Linked DNA regions of Homo sapiens: region 1 is linked to region 2. Evidence: promoter capture Hi-C in 16 types of primary human blood cells and fetal thymus (Javierre and others, 2016). All regions are on one chromosome and are shown on one strand. The core of a region is centred on a gene start or on the middle of the fragment in contact, and the rest is flanking DNA. Distances in the headings are between cores, read along the strand shown.

Evidence for each region. The method cuts DNA at HindIII sites, captures the fragments that hold promoters and counts their contacts. A CHiCAGO score of 5 or more calls a contact.
Region 1: the fragment with the promoter of SHANK2 here is called in contact with the fragment with the promoter of KRTAP5-7 in region 2 in 9 of 17 cell types (total B cells, non-activated CD4 T cells, total CD4 T cells and 6 more); the score reaches 7.4 in total B cells.

The regions. Positions count from the first base shown.
Region 1 is chr11:71,249,731-71,255,167 of GRCh38, forward strand. SHANK2 (SH3 and multiple ankyrin repeat domains 2) reads right to left here and starts at 2,847. Exons shown (of 26, transcript NM_012309.5): 1 at 2,695-2,847. The HindIII fragment of the contact is 2,890 bases long and covers 2,427-5,316 here.
Region 2 is chr11:71,524,098-71,529,208 of GRCh38, forward strand. KRTAP5-7 (keratin associated protein 5-7) reads left to right here and starts at 3,170. Exons shown (of 1, transcript NM_001012503.2): 1 at 3,170-4,572. The coding sequence starts at 3,204. The coding sequence ends at 3,701. RefSeq lists enhancers at 3,058-3,559, 3,560-4,059. The HindIII fragment of the contact is 23,305 bases long and covers 1-5,111 here.

The sequences.
Region 1 (5,437 bases), core at 1,597-4,096, 270 kb before region 2:
GGAAGTAAGGCAAGTATGCTAAAGCACTGCCTTCCTATAAAGAGCCATTTTTAGGAGTGTGTTTCTGTATACTGGTTAATTCCCGGCCCGTTTTTCTCTCCCATCCTTTTCCTCGTCACTAATGAAATATAAAATGCAATGCGGTCTCAGAATCCCTTTACCTTCCTCTGGGCAGCACTCACATCTGATATCACCTGGCTCCCCAAGCCCAGGCCTAGACCAAGACCCCTAGAAGCCAGCATGGCCCTGCATACAACCCTAAGCACCTGAATGAAGAAATGAATGAATGAAAATCTTGAAACTCACCCAAATAGGAATACGGTTTTCTATAGCAGACTGTACTTGGAGACAGTACACAGAAAGATCCCCCCAACAGACCGCCCCCCTCCCCGGGGGTGGGGGGGAATCTAATTTGTTAAAAGCAGCCAAGTGCTGTCAACCGAGCCCTCTGGGATCATCTTTATAGGTGAAATCACCTACTTGTAAAGAGTTACCTTTGATACTTGAATTCCAACCTCCTTCCAAAGGGACCCAAAGAAGCACCAAGCTTTCCACCCAATTCTTCCTTCCAGGAAAACAAGGAATTCCTGGGTGTAATAATGGAATCAGAGGCCTTATATAGACAGTGCTTCCCAGGAGCTGAATCATTCAGGCACTACTGGGACACCCAGATTCCTATCAGGACAAGAGTCTCCCTCAAGCCCCCTCAGAGGACAGTGACATCCGGCATAGAAACCCACAGCTCCCACCTACCAATCCCCCTCTTAGAGCAGACACGACGGCTTTCCCTCAGAATTAACACTGAACCCAGATGGGGGCCGAGCTCGCTCTCCTCACTCCACCCCCACAGGCTCAACCCTATTAGGACCCTCAACCTTGTTTCCAACCCACAAGTAGTTGGAAAACTCCAAAAGCAATCGGCCCGGGGCTGTTCTGGACCTGCTGAACCCTCTGGGGCACCAGGCTCGGTTCCTAGTGCACAGAAGGGCGTCACTAACTATGTGATGCGGACCGCAGGGCACCGGGGTTAAGGCTGAATCTGCCAGGTCCTTTTCCAGGGGCGCAGAACTTCCCTTGTGGCTGGGTCGGCAAAACCGAGGCCCACATCCCAGATAGAGATCAAATCGCCCTCCCCCACCGGGGGACTTCCGAAATTACCTCTCTGGATCTGGAAGCTTAATTAGCTGATTGGCCTCATTAACGTTCGAACTTGAGTTTCAAACGAAAAAGAGGTCACTCAACTATCCAATTTACAACCTCGAATTTCCACCCGAAAACCACTTTATTTTCGGATGGCCTCTGAGGACGCCCAGGCCCCTGCCAGCAGCTGCCAGCCCCCGAGAGCCTTACGTACTTTCGCCTGACCCCCCCACCACCCACCCCTCACCTGCCTGGCTCGAGCGCCTTCTCAGTTCCAGGCGCCCCGAGCCCCTTTAAAAGATCGGCTGCGAAAACCCACGGTCACCTGCACCACCCTTTCTCCCTCTGGGTGCTCCAGCCCCACGGAAAGGCAAGCCTCGCCCACGCGCCCACCCACCTCGAGCAGGGTGTCCGCACGCAGACCCGCCTGGAGGGCGCCGCGCTGCACCCCCACGCCAAGCCCCAGAACCCTGGCGGCGAGGTCCACCCCAGCCCCCGCATCCCCCCGAACCCGGGCGGCGAGGCCCGCTGCGGTGGTCGCACCTGCTGGCTCAGTCCGGCGGCTCCAGCCCAAGTGACGAGTGCGCTGTCGGCGTCTCTGGGAGCGGTCCCCGCGCCTGGCGCCCGGGGCCGGGGCCACCCGGTGGAGGCGCCTGGGCCGCGGGCTGGGCGGGCGGAGCTGCCCGGCCGCCGGGGAGGAGGGATGCCCGGGCGAAAGTTGCCAGGGAAACTTGATCAACTCGAGCGCGCCGGTGCCAGCTTCCTGCATAATTCACGGACGGTGGCGGCCGGGCTGCGCCCGCCGGGTCTCCCTATCCCAGCTGGTGAGCACGGCGGGCCGGGGTCGGGCACCCGGCTGTGGCTCAGCGCGACCCCCGGGACCTGGGCGCCCGACCCGCCACCCCCGGGCCCGCACCAGGCGCGCCGGCCCCGGCCTCTCCGCGACAGCTGCTGCTGCCGCCGCGCGCGCCTGGATGGGAGCTCTGCGTGCAGGGCCAGGGTGACCGCAGCGGGGTCTCGGGGGACCTGGCGGCCACGGTTCGGGTCTCCGCCCCCGCGCGCCACCTGGCGGCCCCGCGCCGGCTCCTCCGCTGGGCTCGCTGGCCCGGGTCCTAGGGCTGGCGGGCGGTGACCCGGGGCAAGGAGACCCCGGGAGAGCGGGGGAGGTCGCGCCACACGCGCTGTTCCAGAGGAAGGGGCAGGACGCGCCAGAGACTACGTGGTCCATGCGCGCAGGAGATAAAGCGGGGGCTCCTTCCTGCGCTCTGCCCCCACGCCGCTTCCAAAGCTTTCGACACCGGCCCCTGCCCGGGAAGAAAGGCATGCAGGGGGAAGGGCTCTCTACGGAAAATCGACCCCCACCTGGACACGCGGCTCACTCCCCCCAGCGCCCACCTCTCCAGCCTCTCTGGGTCCAGGACTGCGCTTACCCGGTAGTTGGTGCTCCCGGAATCGAGATGCCCCCAAAATGCCGTCAGTGAGCAGGATCGGGTGCCCAAGGGCCACCTCCCGTCCTCCCCGGCCCGCGCCCTGCGTCCCCGGCCGCCGCCTCACCTGGCTCGGCGAGTCGGGGGCGGGTCCGAGCCCCCCGGGAGCGCCAGCGTCCGCGCACACCTGGATCGGCCGCGGGAACCCGAGCGGCGCCGCGCCCAGCCCCGCCGGAGCTCAGGAGCCGCCGCCGCGGCTCAGGTGCAGGGGGTGGGGAAGGACCCGGCCCCGCCCGGCGCGGGAGCTGGCTCCGGCGAGGGTGGGGGAGGGGCCCTCTCGCCGCCGAAAGGACGCGTGCGGCCCAGGACCCGCGGGCGACCCGACCTGGACCCCCACCCCCGCCCACGCCGCGGACCTCAGTCCCCCGCCCCGACCCCGCTCCCGCCCGCGGCTGCGGCTCGGGCGTGCGCGTGGGGTCTGTTGTGGCAACCCCGGGAGACCGCGGGGCGCCCTGGCCGCCTCTGCCCCGCCCCGGGCTGCGTGGCTCACGGACCTCCCCCTCCCTGGCCAAAGCCGGCGGACGAGAAAGTCCCTGATTTTTGTAAAGTCCGGTTCGGTCTGCACGGTTATCCCGAACGCAGCTGGCTCCCGCCACAGAGTATTTATAATAATAGGATTTGGAAATAGAGGCTGCCTGCACATCAAAACGTTTGCAGAGCAAACGAAAACTTTGTACCCGGGTGATACGCCGGCGTCTGCTGCCCAGGCCACCAGTTCTGGGGCGCCTTCCGCCCAGGGGTGCACAACGGTATCTCCGCCAGCTGCCCTCCAAGCCAAGAAAAGCCAGGGGGTGGGGTGGGGGGAGCAAAAGCCAACGGCTCGGGTGAATCCCAGAGGCCAAAGGCACCCTCCGGAGACTCCAGGAATCCTGTTATTATCCAGGACTCCGGATTGCTAGGTTTGCGGAAGCCCAAAGGGGCGGGTCCTGAGCTTGGAGCTGTGGCCGCCGTGTGAGCCATCGGCTGATAGATTTTCTCAAGGCCTTAATCATTCACTGGGAGTCTCCCCCAGTACGAGCTGCGTGTTTCTGAGTAAGCTCTTGAGGTCTCTGTGTTCTGAGTTTTCCAGTATTCTGGAAGGTGTGGGTGGGGATCAGAGTCCAAGCTGTGGAGTAGAACTGTCTCCAGAACCCTGGAGCCCGGCATTATGCAAACCCCTAACTGTGCCCCCTACATAGAGTGAGTGTGTGTGTGTGTGTGTGTGTAAGTCAGTCTATCTTACAGGACATGCCTGAGAGGTTTGCATGGGCTGGTGACTTCAACATACCAAAGGCAAAGTTAAATATTTGCTCTAGATACTTTTTTTTTTCAGCTTGCATAATTGTCCCACATTTCAAAGAAGTCTTTAAAAGCACTTAGGTTAAAAAAAAAAAAGTTGTGTTTGGGGCCTGAATATTTCAGGACACACATGGAATAAATATTGTAACTCCTTGAGGGCAGCTGCCTTATGTAAATGTCTTTCTCGTCGCTGCTTCCTTAAGCATACACTTGATAAAATATTTGTTGAATGAATAAAGGAGTCAATCAATCAAAAAATAATAATCCCCAAAACAGGAAGAAGGACGCCCTGACAGGATCCTGCAGGCATCCTTTGTTTGGCATGGAAGCTGGGGTGCCTGGGAGAGGTGTGAGCAGGACAATCGGATGTTCTTTGGGTTGGCCGGTGGCAGATGCAAGACCTGGGTTGCAGGGAGTGGGGGTGGGGGCTCTACCTTTCCATAACAGTCCATCAGTACCCTCCCCACCAAAGAAGGCAAGTCATCTGAATAAAGTGGTGTATTTACCCTGCAAACCCAGCTCAAAGACCTATCCTCAGGATATTTCCCTCCTCTCACCAGATTCCCACCCCTGGAACACCCCTTCCTAGGTTTCTAGAACCACTGCTGCAGATAGACCAGGCAGCTGGTCACAGTTCAATTGTGAACATTTTTCGGCTATCTCCATGCAAGGTTTAAGACCGATGCCATTATGCTATCTCCAAGAAATACTTCCCTAGGGACGCAGGCCTCTGCCAGCCTTCCACCCAAGTGGACACCCCTTGGGCCATCCCCCTCCAGTCTTTCTGATCTGTTAGCCAACAAGAGCGCTGTGTGAGAGCCCCGACATTCGGCATTTTAAGGACAGCATCCTGCTTACGCCCCAGTTTCTTTGTGTCTGTTTAGAGATATCCAGTTCAGCCTTGTGCTCCGATGAAGCAACATCCTTCAAGTCTGTAAAAATCTCTTATGATCCCAAAACAAAGAAAATCAAGGTTACAGGTGATGGATACACTAATTTCCCTAATTTGATCATTACACATTGCATACGTGTATCAACATCTCACACTGGACCCATAAATACGTACAATTATGTGTCAACTAAAAGTATTGACAGCCAAAAAAAAAGGCTCTTATGAAAAGGTTCAGGGTCAGATAATGCTGCCACAGTGCCTTTATTCACATCTTAACGCTCTGAGCGGGCATCTCAGGTTGAGGGGAACACCTACCCCCCGCCGCTCATTTGAAGTAGGACCTCTTTTGGCATTCTAATTTCTGGGGGGCCCATAGCCACACACACCACCAAGTGCCTTGTTTTAGGTTCAGTTTAGGAAAAGAAGACATGACCCTCCTGGCTTCCTGGTTTCAGAACCCTCCGGTTTTGTTTCTGGAAGCTGCCTTCCAGGATTCACCAGGTTTTGCAGAAAGGAGTAAGCTTTTCCATCTGGTCATCTTGTCTTTTTTTCTTGTCCAACCTGAACCATGAAACCATCAGCCACATCTGTGGAGTACACGCTGTGTGGTCCTGAGCACGCTAGGACTTTCTGGGAAGAG
Region 2 (5,111 bases), core at 1,920-4,419:
GACTTCATCTAAAAAAAAAAAAGTGATCCCCAGTAATATAGTTTGCATGCTTCCTCCAAATCTTATGTTGGTGGGGCCTGCTGGGAGGTGTTTGGATCATGGGTGTAGATTTTTCATGAATGGTTTAGCACCATCTCCTTGGTGATGAATAAGTTCGAGCAAGATCTGGTTGTTTAAAAATATGTGGCACTGACCAGGCATGGTGGCTCATGCATGTCATCTCAACACTTTGGGAGGCTGAGGTGGGCAGATCACCTGAGGTCAGGAGTTCGAGACCAGCCTGACCAACAGGGAGAAACCCTGTCTCTACTAAAAATACAAAATTAGCCAGGTGTGGTGGTGCATGCCTGTACTCCCAGCTATTCGGGAGGCTGAGGCAGGAGAATCACTTGAACCTGGGAAGCGGAGGTTGCGGTGAGCCGAGATCATGCCATTGTACTCCAGCCTGAGTAACAAGAGCAAAACTCCATCTCAAAAAAAAAATGTGTGGCCTCTGTCCCTCCACCAGCTCTCTCTTTCTCAGCTGTCACCATGTGGCATGCCTGCTCCTGCTTTGCCTTCTACCATGAATAAAAGCTCCCTGAGGGCCTCACCAGAAGCTGAGCAGATGTCGGTGCCATGCTTGTACAACTAGCAGAACCAGGAGCCAATTAAACCTTTTTTATTTATAAATTACCCAGCCTCAGATATTTCTTTATGGCAACACAAAAAATACAGAAAACTGTACCAGGAATGGTATGTTGCTATAAAGTCACCTGAAAATGTGGAGGTGACTTTGGAACTGGGTAATGGCCAGAGATTGGAAGATTTTTGGAGGGCTCAGAAGAAGACAGAAAGATGAGGAAAAGGTGGGAACTCCTTTGAGACTGGTTAAATGGTTGTGTCCAAAATAATTAAAGTGATAAGAACAATGAAGTCCAGCCTGATGAGGTCTCAGATGGAAATGAGGAACTTACTGAAAACTAAAACAAAGATCACTTGTGTTACACCTTGGCAGAGAGCTTGACCATATTGTGCTTCATGCCCTAGGGGGCTCTGAAAATTTCTACTTAGGAGTGATGACTTAGGATATCTAGTGGAAGAAATTTCTAAGCAGCAAACATTCAAGCTGTGGCCTGACTGAATCTAACATCGTATTCTCACATGCAAGAGCACATAAATGAATTAAAGTTGGAATTTATATTTAAAAGGGAATCAAAGTGTAAAAGTTTGGAAACTTTGCAGCATGGCCATGTGGCAGAGAATGAAAAAGCATTATCAGGAGAGGAATCCAAGCAGGCTATAGAGCAACCACCTGCTAGAGATATTAGCATGACTCAAAAAACAAACAAAAAAACCCAAGTGCTAATAGCCAACACAATTGGAAAAGACTTCAAATGCATTTCAAAAGTGTTTGAGACAGCCCCTCTCATCACTGACCTAGAGGTCTAGGAGGACACCATGGTTTCAGGGGCTCACCCCAGGCCCTCACTGCCCTGCATAGCCTTGGAGCACTGCTCCCCACACATAGGCTACTCCAGCTCCAGCCTCAGCTCAAAAGACCCCAAATGTAACTCTGGCTTCAGAGGGTGCAAGCCATAAGCCTTGGTAGCTCCCATGTGGTGTTAAGCCTGTAGGTGCGTAGAATACAAGAGTGAAGGAGGCTTGGGATCCTCTACCTAGATTGCAGAGGATTTATGAGAAAGCCTGGGCACTCAGGCAGAAGCCTGCTGCAGGGGCAGAGCCCGCACAGAGGATATATACTAGGGCAGTGTAGAGGGGAAATGTGGAGTAGGAGGCCCACACAGAGTCCCCACTGGGGCATTGCTTAATTGAGCTGTGGGGAGGAGGACACCATCCTCCAGGCCCCAGAATGGTAGAGCCACTGGCAGCTTACATCTTGAGCATGGAGAAGCTGCAGGCACACAACTCCAACCCATGAGAGCAGCTGCAGGGTGCGAACCTTGCAAAGCCACAAGGGTGGAGTTCCCCAAGGCCTTAGGAGCCCACCCCTCACTCCAGTGTACCCTGGATGTGGGACTGGGAGTCCAAGGACATTATTTTGGAGCTTTAAGATTTAATGGCTGCCCTGCTGGATTTCAGACATGCATGGGGTCTGTAGCCCCTTCCTTTGGGCTGATTTCTCCCTTTTGGAATGGGAATGTTTACCCAATGCCTCCACCCTCATGTATCTTCAAAGTAAATAATGTGTTTTGATTTTCACAAGTTCATTGGTGGAAGGGACTTGGACTTGGGACTTTGGACTTGATGTTGGAATGAGTCAAGACATTGAGAGGACTGTTGGGAAGAGATGATTCTATTCTGCAATGTAAGGACATGAGATTTGAGGGGTCAAGGGGATAATGATACAGTTGGGATGTCCCCTCCAAATCTCTTGTCGAAATGTAATCCCCAGTGTTGAAGGAGGGGCCTGCAAGGAGGTGTTTAGGTCATGGGGGCGGATCCCTCATGACTGGCTTAGCGCCATCTCCTTGGTGATGAGTGTGTTCACTCAGATCTGGTTGTTCGCAAGTGTGTGGCCCCTCCTCACCCCTTGCTCCCACTCTCACGATGTGGTGAGCCTGCTCCTGCTTCACCTTCCACCATGAGGAAAAGCTCCCTGAGGGCCTGCCCAGAAGCTGAGCAGAGGTGGGTGCCATGCTTGTGCAGCCTGCAGAACCATGAGCCATTCTAACCTTTCCTTTATAAATTACCCAGCTTCAAGTATTTCTTTAGAGCAATGCAAAACTGAGAATGGCATGAGTAAAATATAAAGACCATGGATAATTTTGAAATCTAAAAATGTGAAATTAATATTCCTGGGGGAGTCAACACAGGAAAGATGAGAGCACGTGGGCAAAGGCTGTTGCCCATTGGTCACATGTGGTCAGCAGAGAGCAGGTGACCAGCACCCTGGAGCTTTGCGGGAAGCACCAGACAGCCTGGAGCTGAGGTTTCAATTGTAGGGGCCAAAACAAATAGGGAAAAAGACAAATTTAGTAAACAAAGAAAGTAGATGCTCAACTGAGCCAGGAGGAAGTCACTAGCAAAGAGGAAAAAAAATAGAGCTCTGGAAAAATAGCGTAAACAGTCACAAGGAAGCGACCCTGTATTGTGCCTGACCTCTGGACAGGTATATAAAGAGCCCGGGCTCAGGGGGCTCCACACCTGCACCTCCCTCTCACCTGCTCCTCTACCTGCTCCACCCTCAATCCACCAGAACCATGGGCTGCTGTGGCTGTTCCGAAGGCTGTGGCTCCGGCTGTGGGGGCTGTGGCTCCGGCTGTGGGGGCTGTGGCTCTGGCTGTGGGGGATGTGGCTCCAGCTGCTGTGTGCCCGTCTGCTGCTGCAAGCCCGTGTGCTGCTGTGTGCCAGCCTGTTCCTGCTCCAGCTGTGGCTCCTGTGGGGGCTCCAAGGGAGGCTGTGGCTCCTGTGGGGGCTCCAAGGGGGGCTGTGGCTCTTGTGGGGGTTCTAAGGGGGGCTGTGGTTCTTGTGGCTGCTCCCAGTGCAGCTGCTATAAGCCCTGCTGCTGCTCCTCAGGCTGTGGGTCATCCTGCTGCCAGTCCAGCTGCTGTAAGCCCTGCTGCTGCCAGTCCAGCTGCTGTAAGCCCTGCTGCTGTTCCTCAGGCTGTGGGTCATCCTGCTGCCAGTCCAGTTGCTGCAATCCCTGCTGCTCCCAGTCTAGCTGCTGTGTCCCCGTGTGCTGCCAGTGTAAGATCTGAGGCTCTGGACTCAGGTCTCATGTGAGTCCTGCTAACCCCATTTTCCGAAGCTGTGACCTGTCCTTCATCGTTGAGCCCCAAACCACTGCTCAGGGTCCATTCCTCACTATAAGATGAAGCCATATCTGCCTGCCTTTTCCTAAGGAGAGTCCACCCTAATTAATGTCCATTCCCTCCTAACAAATTCTCTTCCCAAGTCAACTGCAACTGCGGCTGAATCACCCCTCACCCGCTAGCCTTGCCTTTGCTTGTGTATTCAGAGGCCTGAGCTCCTGAACCCACTTGAAGTCCTGTCTTTTCCAGCTGGAGCAGCTGGGCATGAGTGTCCCACCTGCAACAAGGTGGGCGTTTAAGAGGCTTCCTTGGAGTGGCTTTGCCTGTCCAACACTCTGCTTTATCTTAAATGAAAAGTTGCAAACTAATAAAAATACCATGCCGACAAACTGAAACACATATCTTGCTGATTTCTCTGTTGTTCGGGGTCATTACTATGGCTATGGCTATTGTTTTCTTGTTCTTGTTGTGTTTCGGACTGCGTGGGTCTGATGCTGATGTTGCTGGAAGGTGCTAGGATGGGGCTGGCTGTCTCCTCTGCCTCTCATCTCCTTCCTGGCTGACCCCTCTTTTCTCAGAACCCCTCTCTTCCTAGGTCTTTCCAGCTATTGATCTGATGGAGACAGGACTGTTCCTCAGGCCAGGGCCACAGAAGCAGAAGAGGCTGCTGAAAACTCTGGGGAGTTCAGACTTGCCTCCTTTCCCTGGTCCAGGCCTCTGCCATCTTCCTTTGGGAAGTTTTTGTAACCAACTTACTCTGATTGTCTTTGTTGTTACACAGCCTGTTGCCTCTGTAAATAAACACTCCTAGCACCAAGCCAATATTGCTTTTTAAGAATTTTGAAAGGGCCGGGCGTAGTGGCTCACGCCTATAATCCCAGCACTTTGGGAGGCCGAGGCAGGCGGATCACTTGAGGTTAGGAGTTTGCGACCTGACTGGCCAACATGGTGAAACCCTGTCTCTACTAAAAATATAAAAATTAGCTGAGTGTGGTGGCACGTGTCTGTAATCCTGGCTACTTCGGAGGCTGAGGGAGGAGAATGGCTTCAACCTGGGAGGGGGAGGTTGTGATGAGTCGAGGTCGCGCCACTGCACTCCATTCTGGGCGACAGAGCAAGACTCCGTCAAAAAAAAAAAAAGGCAATATTAATAGAGTTGAATTATTTCAAGTTATTTGGAAACACAGCAATTTATTGGTGGGATATGTCCTAAGCATAGAAAGAACACAAAAATAAAATTCCTAAGCTATTTTTAGTAGTCATGGTGGCAGCAGTGGTGTCGTTATTCTGCTGTGAATGCTGTATGGAAAAAGCAAATGCATAATTAGGTTGGTATCAGAACTAGAATTTTTGGTG